Linked DNA regions of Homo sapiens: regions 2, 3, 4 and 5 are each linked to region 1. The links are contacts of gene promoters, found by promoter capture Hi-C in blood cells and fetal thymus (Javierre and others, 2016). All regions are on one chromosome and are shown on one strand. Each heading gives the region's core, a stretch centred on a gene start or on the middle of the fragment in contact. The rest is flanking DNA. Distances are from core to core; before and after follow the strand shown. Region 1 holds the start of SH2D4B (SH2 domain containing 4B). Region 2 has its middle 27 kb from the start of DYDC1. Region 3 overlaps DYDC1 (DPY30 domain containing 1). Region 4 has its middle 4.3 kb from the start of PRXL2A. Region 5 has its middle 18 kb from the start of LINC02655.

Region 1 (2,648 bases), core at 73-2,572:
GGGTCCTGGATGATTTCCTTCACCCACAGGTGTACCAGTCCATAGGATTGACTGGCACATGACTTTGCATACAAAACACCTGAAATGTAGGCTAGGCCCTTGCTTCTCATCTGCAGTTGCTACGACCATTTGGGGATGGTCATTCATTGTGTGGGACGTTCCCTGATGCCCTCTCTCCGGATGCCCAGTGGGGCTCCAGAGACAACCCACAGCATCCTCCTGCCGGAGGATCTGGAGGGAGAGGCACAGTCCACAGAAGGGGCCCTAGCCAAGAACTGGTGTGCCACGCATGCCAAGGAGAAAGGAACTGCATATCTACACCACACTCTGGCCCAGAACCAATGGCAAGGGTCACAAATATGCCGTCGTTCACCCTACCATTGCCAACCACGTCGGAGCACAATCTGAAGTCTCAATGGTGTCTTCCCAGAACTCGGGCCTTCCACAACAAGACAAAGCAAGTCCCAACTCCCCGACTCCAATAAGGGCCGCTGGACAGCCTCTGCAGCAGCCTCGAAGCCCTAAGGTCCTGGCCAAAAGGCAAAAGCACAGGCTCATGGGACCTGATGCCCACAAGACAAGGGTTTCAAGCCCCCAGCCCTCATCACCCCAGTGCCCATCTTGAAGAAGGGCACAGCCTGGCCCTGCTAATTTTTCTACCTCCTGGGGGACTGGTGGCCTACCTCTCTGTGACTCCCAGCCACGTACCTCGCTTGGTCTTTGGAGGCCTGAGACCCTCGTCCTGGGCCAGGGCCTCCCAAGTCTCCCGCTCCTTCCAGCGCCTCAGCTGCTCCTCCCGCATTTTGTAGAAGAGGATGTGCTTCTGCACATCGCTGAGCTCGGCAAGGAGCTCGGGGTCGATGTACATGTCGTGCAGGATCTGCTGCAGCATGATGCCACCTGGGATGCACGCACCAGAAGGGCAGCCAGCAGGGGAAGCAGGGCCAGGCAGAACGCCCGAGGGGCTGCTCTGCACTACGGACTGCTCAATCCGGGGCCACTCTCGGTGCCCCTTCTCTGTGCAGCATTGTCAGTTGGCCTCAGCTTGCAGCCAGCGACGAACTCATCTCCTCTACCCAGGACAGCAAAAGAGGCCAGGCAACAGGACCCAAAGGGGCAGGTGGGACTCTGCAAGGGGGAGCAACCACCAGGAGCAATCTAGTCCTTCTCCTGGGTCACCAAGCACGGCATCCCAGGAGAGCCCATGTCTTGGCATCACCTGGGGTTCTGAGACAATGGGAAGGGCCCAAGCCTCCAGCTCAGCCAGGAAATGCCCAGTCCCAGCCCTGCCTGGGCTGGTAGGTGTCGAGTGATCTGTTAGTGGAAGGTAACAATGACACCAGCTATATCAATGACACTGCCCCGGCCAGCTGGGAACTGATCTCTCCTCTGCAGATAAGAGGAGGAGAAGGAGGCAGACTTGCCTACTAAATTCCATGTCTTTTCAGCCAATTTCAAACACAGACCAGAGGAGCCTGCCAGAAGCTGCTGGGCCCCTCAGCCCTCTCAGCCCCTCTCTCTGCGGGTTCCTTCGCTGCCAACTTTCTTCCTTTCCAGAACATTTGGCATTCTGAGATGATGCGTTTAAAACTCTGCCTTGGGGGAGGAAAGATTTTTCCTCCTATCTGTGTTACAGCCAAGAAAGAAAACAAAATGGAATCAGTAGAGACAACTGGAGGGGATTTTATCTTGGAATTCCAGGACAGAAAGGAAGCAGACATCCTTTCCCTTTGGCCTATATATAATGAGATCCTGCAGCCATGCGTGGCTGACAGATAAACCCTCCAGGGGCCAGTTTTAATGGTCGTTGTTAATCTTGTTTGTTGCAGATGCCTGGAGTTGACCAAAAAGAAAGAAGATGAAACTGGCTCTTCTCTGTGCCCTGATCAGAAGCACACTGGAATGGCGGGATGTTGCCTTCTGCTGGGAGGGAAGCCACCCTCTCTTTGGTGTGTGAAGGTGGGTAGAAGCTGCCGTTGCTGAGATCTTTAGGGTGAAAGCTCACCCTAAATATGTGCTCAGAGCAAATCACAGATGCCTTCTTATTGGGACAAGGATATTGAAGCTCAGAGAAAGTAAGTGGCTTGCCTATGGCTTCCTAATGGACAAGTCACTGTATTGGGACTCCCCCGTTTTGAAATTTGACATCCACTAGCAACTATGAATCTGTTGATGGTTTGAAAACATAACCCAACCAAGGGAAAACAAACGAACCAACAGGATTTGGCACTGTGGCTTGGTTGGATTGGTGACCTTCCTGTCCCCTTCCTTGCCCATGAGGGTGGAAGGTGGATCAGGTACCCAAGAGTGATGGAAGAGGGGTGGAGAGTTGGCATTCTTCCCCCTCTGCAAGGTTAACACAACAGGAAGATGGACTAAGCAGATTCAGATGAGCTGTAAGCCCATAGGGTCAAAGCTCCTGCTCAGCTAGGCAATGTCCAGGTCACAGGAGTGGAGTCAGACGCCCCACCCCTCCCCACCCAGGTCCAGCTAGCTGGTCCCAGTGTGCCCAGACCTTCCTAGAGCCGCCACAGGACTCGCCTGTCCGCTGCAGAGCTGTGGCCCTGGACTCCCATCCACCCACCTCAGGGCTTGCACCGACTCCCCCACCGGGAGTCCTGGCTCCCCTCAGTTTCTGAGACCGGGGG
Region 2 (2,648 bases), core at 52-2,551, 210 kb after region 1:
TAACTTTTTTAAGGAAAACATCATTCATATACTTTCCTTTACTTCTTTAGACATGGTTTCACATTTTTTGCATGTGAGATCTATGGAGATGTGAAGGATTCTGGCAAAACAGAGGAGTAGAGAGGCTGTTAGGAGCCAGATCATGAAGGATCTGGACACCAGCTTCAAAGGTTTGGACTTGAGTTAAGGCATGTTGGGTGGCACTGAAGGCTTTTGATCACGGGATCAAATTGATTTTGTAGGAAGACCCAATCTCAGGAAGTGAATAGATGGGTCAAAGACTTAGAAATAGGTTAAAGAGTCTTTTTGTTTTGTTTTGTTTTGTTTTGTTTTTTGCCTGAAAAAGGACTTTTGAAGTGGCAGTGCAAATGGAAAGCAACGGTCAAATGCCATGGTCTTATAAAGGATGGATAGTCAGGATTTGGTGACTCAATGAGGAGGCCAAGGTAAGCAATCACTGCTGATGTTTAGGCTTGGAAACATGGTGACTTCAAGAAGAGCAATTTGAGAAGAGCTAGAAGAACAAAGACATATTGAGTAAACAAAAAATGTTTGGAGTGGTTGCTCCATACCAGACACTGTGCTTGTCATGGTGAACAAGACAGACATAGTTCCTAAACATATGGCACATATAGTCCAAAGGAAGCAAGTGAACAAAGTAAATTGCAATGGGGCAGTGAGGGAAATTAAGCAGTGTGCTGAGACAGAGAGCAGTCAGAAGGACTCATTTTAGATTAAGGATGTCAGTAAAAAATGGGAAGTGGCCATATTTGGGACTAAAGCTTCAGTTGTAGACTTACTATTTGATAAAGCAGGCTGATATATGTGTAAAATTATTTCATAGACTGTTGGAAAGGCAGAATGAAACCCAGGAGAAAAGTTGAGAATGGATGCAAAGGTTTGGGAGTTACTGGCAGGGATCTCTGAGGGAGGTTATGTCCATTTGAATTGGGGGTGGGGTGAGGCAGCAACAGGATAAAGAGTAGTTAGTGGGACCAGAGAAGGCTCAAATGGATGGACAGAGGCAGAAGCTCATCCTCACCATCCAGGGTGAGTTTCCAGGAGAATGGCAAATGTTGTGGAGGGAAGGAGATGGGAGTGATGTGTAGAAGGACCTGTAATGGCCTTTGAGGATTTTTCCCTGTTTTTATTAAGGATATGGGGGTGAAATTCAGCTCTGGTGGTTAAGGGTGTGAATTTTGGTAGACAGGAAAGGGGCTGGTGAAGCCAGTCTTTGGAGAAGTTTGGTGATGAAGAGAGAGTGACTTGAAGATGTAACAGGGCTGGGGAAGGATTCTCCTTGTAGGGAGAAATGAAGTTTCATTTGTGTTTTGGCAATAGGAAAGTGGCAAGTTGACTGAAGGTGTAGCTCAAAGCATTAGAGCAGGGTTCCAGAAGAATTGGGGGTGGGACAAATCAGAGGAAGACAAGTACTTCATAAATCACCTTTTCCTCCACTCCAGGAGGGGAAAATATAGAGACAGACATTTTGAGGTATGGAGGATGAATACTTGGAAGGAGTTAGGGGTACACTGCAGAATTTGCATTATATACCTCTGAGCCACTTGGTAAAGAAGGAAAGAAAGGCAGAGGTTGGTCAAGTACTTGAGTGAGGATGAATTTTACAATGTCTTCTGGGGCAATGGATGAATAAAGTGATTGATGGACAACTCTGTGAACCCACTTGAAGTTTATCCATTAAAAAATGTATGAATGCCTGCTCTGCCTCAACTTCCTCATTTGTATACTAAGTAAAGTAATAGTGCTGACCTCTTTAGGGTTGTGAGAAGGATTAAATGAGTTAATTCATGGAAAGCTTTTACAACAGTGCCTGGCACTTAGTAAGCACTCAACAAGTAGTTACTACTGCTATTACATGCTAGGTGCTGTGTGAGGTAAATAGAGATCTCATCAGAGTTATTATATTCTCCAGTAGCTCATAACAAACACAGAGGTAGAACAGAGTCAGTGGGTAATGGAGGTGCCCTGGAACTGAGGATTGGGAGACTGTCGCGGGACCATAGGGGTTTAGAGTCAGGTAGGAGCAGCCCTGGAGTGCGTGGCTCCCATGCTTACTCTCAGGTAGGTGTCAGTACTGTGGCTGGAGGGAAGGAGGTGGTGACCTTGTTCAAAGCAGGTTCCTGGCCAGGAACTGAGCAGTGGTGGGAGAAGGGGGAGGTCAAGGTAGCAGAGGAGACAGTGAGGGGTACAGCTCATGGGAAAGGATTTTGCAAGGATCTGGTCCAGCCAAGTGGTTGAGGAAGGACTATGGCCCCACCAGGAAGCTTGCCTGTAAATTAGAACCAGGGTTGATGCTCATTGTCTAGCTTAGACACATACTGTGAGGACTGGGGCAAGACAGGCGGGGACTGTGTCTCGGTGGGAAGGGGTCAGGCATGAAGTTGGTGAAGAAGAGAGAATAGAGACTAGCATGGAGTACTTACTAATGCCAACAGCTCCCCTGGGAGTTTATAGAGTTGGTATGAGCTTGTGTTTGAAAGTATAGGGAAATGAAGTCTCAAAGAGTAGCATTCAGCATTGTACCAGTAAGTGTTGAAACTGGTCCTGTCACCCAGTTATGTTAGAAATATAACTACTGAATACATTTGCAGATTCCAACAGCATTAAAAAGTGCCTATCTCTAAAAC
Region 3 (2,648 bases), core at 57-2,556, 190 kb after region 1:
TATAGCTGGTATCTGTTCCTGTCTATCAAAAATAAGAGAATTCCCAGAGGTTCTCCTTCCCCTAGGCAATTACATCGTAAGTGGGAGATACATAACTCTCTTCGGCTCGACTACTTTATCCTACTTATGCATAATTTGGCAATACTAGCAATAACAAGTTTCTCTAGCCATATTATGTTGACCGGTATGAACTAATCCACTGTGCATTGAATCCTAAGTATTGTAGTAGGGCGGAAGAGAAAATAATATTATACAGGAGATGTTATGGCCAGTTAGCGGAGTGGATTGGTGTGCAGAAATAGATAGGAGAGATCGATCAACAGAGAAAGGCTTGAGAGAGTGTGGCTGAGATGAAGAAAAACAGAGAGGCCTCTGGGTGCCTTCTGAGTCATGTAAGCTGGAGGTTGGGAACTCTGGTTATTTCCTTGCTGGTTGCAAAAGCAGTTGTCCTCATAGTCAGTACCACTGACTTGAAATTCCTTGATATTTTAGGCACTCTCCACAAGCCTAGTTTTTTGTGAACAGGGAAGTATTTTTATTGCCATTTTCTATGTAAGAGCTTAGTTTTGAAGTAAGAGCTTTTTTGTTTATTTGTTTTGAATGGCTTTCAGTGGTTTTGCTCATGTGTGAGGAAGGGGATTAGGTTTTGGAAGTTTCTTGAAAATGTCAAGAAGCTGGTTGTTTTGATCAATCTGACTGTTATTTAACAAATACACTTTGCATTATTGTTGAGAGATTGGAGTTATTTAACTTCCTCTACCAATGTCTGAAAGTTGATTGAAACTGTTTCTGCGTTTCAGCTACCTACCCCATCACTTTTATCTTAGTAGTGATAATATAGGAATACTAAGAAATTACCTTTAAAAGCTTTTGCAAATAAAATATCAAGCACTTTATTATATCTTTACTTGTAAAAATTTATTATTTTAGAATGCATTGTCAGATAGTAGACATTTTATGCTTTACAGGCCAAGAGGCAAATTTGATGATATTATGAAGGCATTATGGCATATTATGTAGGAATAACAAGAGAGAAAATGAATTTTTGCAAATGTTTTATTGATGAAATTCAAATAATAATCACTGAATATAAATTTTTTATTAGATAGGTTTACTATTGAGAATTTAAAAAAGTTTTTAAAAGATAACATTTCACTTGGTTGAAGTTCAGCGTTAGTGTGGTCTATCATCAAAATCTATTTTAAAATATTTATCTGCGGGCCGGGCGCGGTGGCTCACGCCTGTAATCCCAGCACTTTGGGAGGCCGAGGCGGGCGGATCACAGGGTCAGGAGATCGAGACCATCCTGGCGAACGCGGTGAAACCCCGTCTCTACTAAAAATACAAAAAATTAGCCGGGCGTGGTGGTGGGCTCCTGTAGTCCCAGCTACTCAGGAGACTGAGGGGGAAGAATGGCGCGAACCCAGGAGGCGGAGCTTGCAGTGAGCCGAGATCGCGCCACTGCAGTCCAGCCTGGGCGACAGAGCGAGACTCCGCCTCAAAAAAAAAAAGTTTATCTGCTAATGCTGATCTGTAATGAGGTTTTATGCATTTCATCCTTGAAAATGTCTTTTTACATAGTTACTGTCAAAAGTTGCTATCAGTCTATGTGTGTATAATTTAAATTAAGCATATTCATTCCTTAGAAGGTATTTCTAGAATTTTGTTTTTCTCTTGCTGTTTGCCTTTTAGCATGCATTACTTTGTAGAATAGCCACTTCCAACTGAAGGTTGATGGAAGCTTCTTAATTGCATAGTTAAATGGATTTCAGAATATGGAAATTTCCTTTGCACTTACGTTGAGGCCTTACAAACACTCTGGAATTGTAGTTCGAGGTTGGAAAATACATCCACTGACAATTTGTTTGGGAACGGAGATCTAATATCCTGTTCTAGTTTTGACAGCACTGGACGTGTATAAAGCAGCTTTACGTTACTTGTGATTCAAACAACATGAGCTGTTGTTGAAGTGAGTTTACTGCAGTGTAAGTTTTACATATGAGTGATGTTTTGCCATGTAATTTTAAAATGAATTAAGAAACATTATCAAGTCTGCAGCCAAAGCTAATTTCCAAAGCCATTTAATGTTTGATAATAGTGGTTGGGAGTATTTCTTCTCATTAAGAAAAATTTAAATCCTGTTTACCAATAACTTACTCGAAAAAGAAACCAAGAAAACAATCTTATTTATAATAGCTTCAAAAAGAATAATATACGTAGGAATAAATGTAACCAAGGAGGTGAAACATCTATACCTTGAAAACTGTAAAACACTAATGCAAAAAATTGAGGAAGACACAAATAAATGGAAAGATATCTTGTGTTCATATATCAGAAGAGTTAGTATTGTTAAAATGTCTATACTACCTAAAGTAATCTGCAGATTCATCTCAATCCCTATCAAAATTCCAATGGCATTCTTCACAGAAACAGAAAAACCCAATTCTAAAATTTGTATGGAAGTACAAAAGACCCTGAATAGCCAAAGCAATCCTAAGAAAGAAAAACGAAGTTGGAACTATCAAATTACTTGATCCAGAATTATATTACAAAGCCATAGTAATTACAACAGTATGGTATTGGCATAAAAACAGACACATAGACCAGTGGAACAGAATAGAGAACCCAGGAATAAGCCCAAGTATATA
Region 4 (2,648 bases), core at 41-2,540, 130 kb after region 1:
AGATCAGCTTCAAATATTTTCTCTATATGCCAATATCCCTGAATTCAGCTCTTTCTTATTTGTTTTAAGCATAAAAAATCCTATACTTCCACAGTGTGTCTCAAAGCAAAGCAAAGTCAATAGGGACCTCTTTCTAAAACCTTCCATAAATGTGGCCAATGGTTTACCAGGTGAACCGATGGCTGACTGAGGGCTAGATGGTGGTATTATTCTGCCCCCAGGTTGAGAAAGCAGGATTGTCTCAAGTGTCCTCAACCATCATTGCATGCACTACCAACTAACATTAACTGAGTCTTTATTCAGTTAGGAAGCTTTGATTTGCAAGTTAACAGAAAACCCAATTCCAGTTGCCTTGAGGTGATCCTGTGGTTTCATGATGTCATCAACAGTCGAGGTTCTCTTGCTTCTCTGCCATTATCCATGTGTTGGCTTCATATTAAGGATGGTTCTCCCTATGGTCATAGGATGATTCCTAGGATCCAACATGGGGAAGGGGCAGTTAGACTAAGGAGTGAACAAAACCCAGATCCTCATACTGATTGGCCAGTCATTGTGGCCAGGGTACTACTGCACTCTAAGTCTAGGTTCATTCCCAACTCATCTATCCCTGTGTGCACACTTAAAAAGAAAAAATATAAGTGAAATGAACAGGATAAGGCATTCCTTAGATATCTTCACATTCAAAGCCCAACTCTTTCGTTTTTTGTTTTTTTTTTGTTTTTTTGTTTTTTTACTATTTTTAGACTTAGAGTTGCTGATTTCTGGATTTGTCACACAATATTATCCTCTGACCATTAGAAACATTGGTAACACAGCATTTCTTAAAGGGTGCTCCATATAGCCTTCTGCTCAACATCAGCAGAAGTTTTTGACAAAAAGATGTTTGACATCTTAATGATAGTCCTTCAAAACAAATGAATTGATGACACCAACCTTTCATTGCTTTGGAATTCCTTTTATCCATTTCAAGAGATTTGGCAACTTTTCCAGTGCCTTACAATTCTTTTGTGTGTTTCTCAATAGCAAAACATAATAGACTTCATTTGTGTGTGTATGTATAGCTTTCTTAGGTTCCATAAGTGTCTCAATTGTTGCTCTGCAAGAATATAGGAAAATGAAGTAATTCTTCTGATAACAAAAGTTGCTTTACTAATATCAAATTTATGTTCCACTGCTCTGATTTTATGAATTTCTGCATTTGCAAAAACTTTTTCATTTCAGTGTCAAATCTTGGAGTAATATTTTAGAAGATTTTACTGTTTAAAAAAATAGAGGCCGGGCGTGGTGGCTCACCCCTGTAATCCCAGCACTTTGGGAGGCCAAAGCGGTGGGATCACGAGGTCAGGAGATCCAGACCATCCTGGCTAATACGGTGAAACGCCATCTCTACTGAAAATACAAAAAAATTAGCCGGGCGTGGTGGCGGGCAGCTGTAGTCCCAGCTACTCGGGAGGCTGAGGCAGGAGAATGGCGTGAACCCGGGAGGCGGAGCTTGCAGTGAGCCAAGATTGCGCCACTGCGCTCCAGCCTGGGCGACAGAGCGAGACTCCGTCTCAAAAAAATAAAAATAAATAAAAATAAATTTTAAAAAAAGGCCGGGCGCGTGGCTCACGCCTGTAATCCCAGCACTTTGGGAGGCCGAGGCGGGCGGATCATGAAGTCAGGAGATCGAGACCATCCTGGCTAACACGGTGAAACCCCGTCTCTACTAAAAATACAAAAAAATGAGCCGGGCTTGGTGGCCGGCGCCTGTAGTTCCAGCTATTCGGGAGGCTGAGGCGGGAGAACGGCGTGAACCTAGGAGGCGGAGCTTGCAGTGAGCCGAGATCGCGCCGCTGCACTCCCGCCTAGGCGACAGAGCAAGACTCTGTCTCAAAAATATGTATATAATAATAAAATAAAAAACAAAAAAATAGAGATGGAGTCTCACCATGTTGCCCAGGCTGGTCTGAAACTTCTGGACTCAGGCGATCCTCCACTGTTAGCCTCCCAATGTGTTGGGATTACAGGCGTCAGCCACTGCACCTGGCCCTAGAAGATTTTATAGAGCATTTAAAGTCAACTCATGGAGTACAAGCAATGTCCATAACTCAACTGAAGGGTCAACAATCTAAGCAGCTATGACTACATTGACGGGTGTGCAGGCAATGACAACTGTCACATCTGTTACTACAATAGCAGTCATAGGACACCACTAATTGTAATGCGTGACCCAATTTCAGACATGTTAAAATGTGAAAAAATGAGCAACTTAGAAATTACAAGCTTTGCTATTCTATAATCAAGTAGAGTTTAGTCCAGGATTGTAAGCGGGTGTCAACATTAGTAGATCTATTAGTCCATATGAACAGAAAACAGGAACAAAACTGCTTATCATATTAATAGATGCTGAAAAGAAATCCAGTTAAAATTGTAGAATTTCCTAGTCATAGCCCTAAGTAAAATAGAAATAAAAGCAAATCACTTAAATATAATAAAAATTCTTTATCGAACACTGAAAGCAAATTTCTTACCTGGAAAAATGTTGATTTCAATTAAATAAGGAACTAGCCCTTTATCTCCATAGTATTGGAGTATTAAAAATGCAATAAAAATGAAATTATGTAAACATTGGTAAAGACTATCACTTTTGCTAATCATATGATTTA
Region 5 (2,648 bases), core at 104-2,603, 130 kb before region 1:
AAGAATGTGCTTTCTTTCTCTTCCCAATCATGGGGAGTGTGTGTCACAAGACAGAGAGGCCAATGTGGTCACTACTCACAAAATCTTAAATGGTGACCATGTGAATAGCTCAAAGGAAACTTTCCTAGGCTCTGAAGTTCTCACCTTTTTAAAAATTGAATTGACATGTTGCTCTGCTTTCAGGCGTCCCTCGCCAATTCTGTCTTTTGAAAAGAACTACGATATGGTTTGGCTCTGTGTCCCCATCCCAATCTCATGTGGAACTGTAATCCCCAGTGCTGGGGGAGAGACCTGGTAGGAGGTGATTGGATCACGGGGGTGGTTTCTAAGGGTTTAGCATCATCACCCTAGTGCTGTCTTATGATAGAGTTCTCACAAGATCTGGCTGTTTAAAGGTGTTTAGCACCTTCTCTCTCCCTCTTGCTCTCTCTCTCTCTCTCCTGCTCCACCATGGTAAGACATGCTTCTTCCCCTTTGCCTTCCGCCATGATTGTTAGTTTCCTGAGGCCTCCCCAACCATGCAGAACTGTGAGTCAATTAAACCTCTTTTCTTTATAAATTACCCAGTCTCATGTAGTTCTTTATAGCAGTGTGAGAACAAACTAATACAAATCCTGAGTGAGAGGCTGATTTTCTAGAGCATCTCAGGAGGCAGTGATTCTGGATCATCCATCCACATGCTCATCCTGTATCCACCCACCCATCTATCCATTCGTTCTTCCATCCACCTATCCATCCATCCATCCACCCACCCATGCATTTATCCATCCATCTACCCTTCCATCCATCCATCCATCCATTCCGGTATTCATCTGTTCTTGTGACAAAGATTGCCTTAGTGCCAGGCTCTGTCCTGTAAAGTAGGGATACGGCAGAAAACTCATAGACGTAATCCCTGGCATTATGGCACTGGCATTCAAACTGGGCAAAAAGAAGTAAGCTAGCGTAGTAGAATGATTTGTTAGAAATGTACTATAACCTGGATGTGAAACAGCTGTGTTTTATTCCGCCTCAAATACAGCCAGAACTTTTGGTCCCAAAGGCATGGGCTTCCCTTACTTGCTAGGTGAGTATGTGAGTAAGCTTTTGTTCTCAAAAACCCAGGTGAGTGGTGCCATGCTGGTCACTGAGGGCCACCCTTTAGACACTGTTTTCAGCCTGCACAGGTTTTTAAAGACACTGGATCTGTGCAGGTGGGAGACTTGGCATCCTGTGTTGATGTTAGCCACTTGCTTTCTGCAGACAGCTGGGTCCATGAAACTTCTCTATGCCTAATGAAGAGGAATTGGGCTGGCAACAGCTCGCAACCCTGGCTGCAGATCAGAATCACCTGGAACTTTAAGTCTCTATGCCTAGCCTGCACCCAGACCAATTAAATCAGGAAATCTAGAAGTGACAGTCAGTCAGCAGTTCTTAAAGTGCCCCAGGTGAATCCAATGGGAACAGCTGGTCAAAGGTGAAGAGTTTGCAGCTTTGAATGCTGCAGATTGAAGAAAAGTTTTGTTTCCAGATAAGTTGCAGGAGGAGAAGGGTTTGGGTTTCTGCTCCTAGTTGTAACCAGAACCCATTTCAGGCCCAACACTCCAAGGATGGCAAGGTCTCAGAACAAAGGAACAAAGCTTTTTTAGCCCGAGCTGCAGGCAGAGGAAAGGGCTGCTGCATGGGGCTTCAGGGTAGCCTTCTTGAGGAAGCCATGCCCTTAACAGGCAGAGCAAGGAGAGGAAAGAGGCAGTCAACATGGATCCTGTGAGCCTCAGAGCTCTTGTTTAGGGAGAGGCCAGAAGCGACCAGACCTGGCTTCCTCACGAGCTGAATCTCAGAGCTAGATTGTGTATCATTTAGAAAGAATAAAAAATATGTTACTTTTTGTGCCTTAAGCATCATGTAAGTACTTCATACCTTTTCCCCACTCAGCGGTCACACAGCGGGGCAGTGCTGTGAGGGAGAGAGGCCGAGCTGGCTAGTACCTCTCTCCTCCTACCATGGCCCCTCTGCCACCTATACCTGCCTTGCTCAGCTCGCAGCCATGCCACACCCTCCCCCTGACAGGACATATCCTCTGGGCAAGGGCTGGCAATGACACAGAGGCCTCCATGAGGACCCCCAGGGACAGGGACACTTTCACCCTCCCTGGGAAGTGATAGGTTGGGACCCTGGGCTCCAGGCAGCCCCATCCTCTCAGGGCCATAAGAGCTCTTCCTCATACTATGACTCCCAGGAGTAGTGATGCTTCCTCAGGCTCCCTCCCTCCTACATTCTTGCCCCTTGCCCATCCCATCCCAGAACAAGGAATGTGAATGCTTCTGAACTACTTGTCCAGCCCCTCTTTCTTCTGCAAACAGGCCTCTATCCCATCCCTCTGAATTTCTCCTCTTGGCAGCAAGTCCCACACCCCAGTTTTCTCCTGAAGCAGATGGCTTTAAGAACCTTTCCTTGCTTTCTATTGGGACTACTGACTGTATTATATAGAAATAAAATACTGTGAGCTTGTTCTCCCTGTTGGCACAGCCAACAAGGACCAGCCAGCAGCTTTGTAAATGGCTCCATTAAATCCCAGCTCTGTAGTGGGGCAAAGACTCCCATAGCCCAGTGCTTCTCAGCCTCAGCTACAATCATTATCATCTCAACAGGTTTGAAAATGTGAGATG

The links. The method cuts DNA at HindIII sites, captures the fragments that hold promoters and counts their contacts. A CHiCAGO score of 5 or more calls a contact.
Region 2: a contact is called between a fragment that was not itself captured here and the fragment with the promoter of SH2D4B in region 1, in 1 of 17 cell types (fetal thymus). The highest score is 6.1, in fetal thymus.
Region 3: a contact is called between a fragment that was not itself captured here and the fragment with the promoter of SH2D4B in region 1, in 2 of 17 cell types (erythroblasts and fetal thymus). The highest score is 6.4, in erythroblasts.
Region 4: a contact is called between a fragment that was not itself captured here and the fragment with the promoter of SH2D4B in region 1, in 14 of 17 cell types (activated CD4 T cells, megakaryocytes, non-activated CD4 T cells and 11 more). The highest score is 10.6, in activated CD4 T cells.
Region 5: a contact is called between a fragment that was not itself captured here and the fragment with the promoter of SH2D4B in region 1, in 1 of 17 cell types (M2 macrophages). The highest score is 5.4, in M2 macrophages.

The regions. Positions count from the first base shown.
Region 1 is chr10:80,536,576-80,539,223 of GRCh38, reverse strand. It overlaps SH2D4B (SH2 domain containing 4B), which reads right to left and starts at 1,322. Exons shown (of 8, transcript NM_001388272.1): 1 at 709-1,322. The coding sequence starts at 892. The HindIII fragment of the contact is 17,935 bases long and covers 1-2,648 here.
Region 2 is chr10:80,328,383-80,331,030 of GRCh38, reverse strand. No RefSeq gene overlaps it. Among named protein-coding and RNA genes, the nearest start is that of DYDC1, 27 kb to the left of the region's middle. The HindIII fragment of the contact is 1,034 bases long and covers 785-1,818 here.
Region 3 is chr10:80,347,762-80,350,409 of GRCh38, reverse strand. All of the region lies in intron 3 of DYDC1 (DPY30 domain containing 1), which reads left to right. It also overlaps a transcript of DYDC2 not described here. Among named protein-coding and RNA genes, the nearest start is that of DYDC1, 7.7 kb to the left of the region's middle. RefSeq lists a silencer at 1,771-1,971. The HindIII fragment of the contact is 874 bases long and covers 870-1,743 here.
Region 4 is chr10:80,402,967-80,405,614 of GRCh38, reverse strand. No RefSeq gene overlaps it. Among named protein-coding and RNA genes, the nearest start is that of PRXL2A, 4.3 kb to the left of the region's middle. RefSeq lists a silencer at 1,769-1,941. The HindIII fragment of the contact is 1,954 bases long and covers 314-2,267 here.
Region 5 is chr10:80,666,625-80,669,272 of GRCh38, reverse strand. No RefSeq gene overlaps it. Among named protein-coding and RNA genes, the nearest start is that of LINC02655, 18 kb to the right of the region's middle. The HindIII fragment of the contact is 536 bases long and covers 1,086-1,621 here.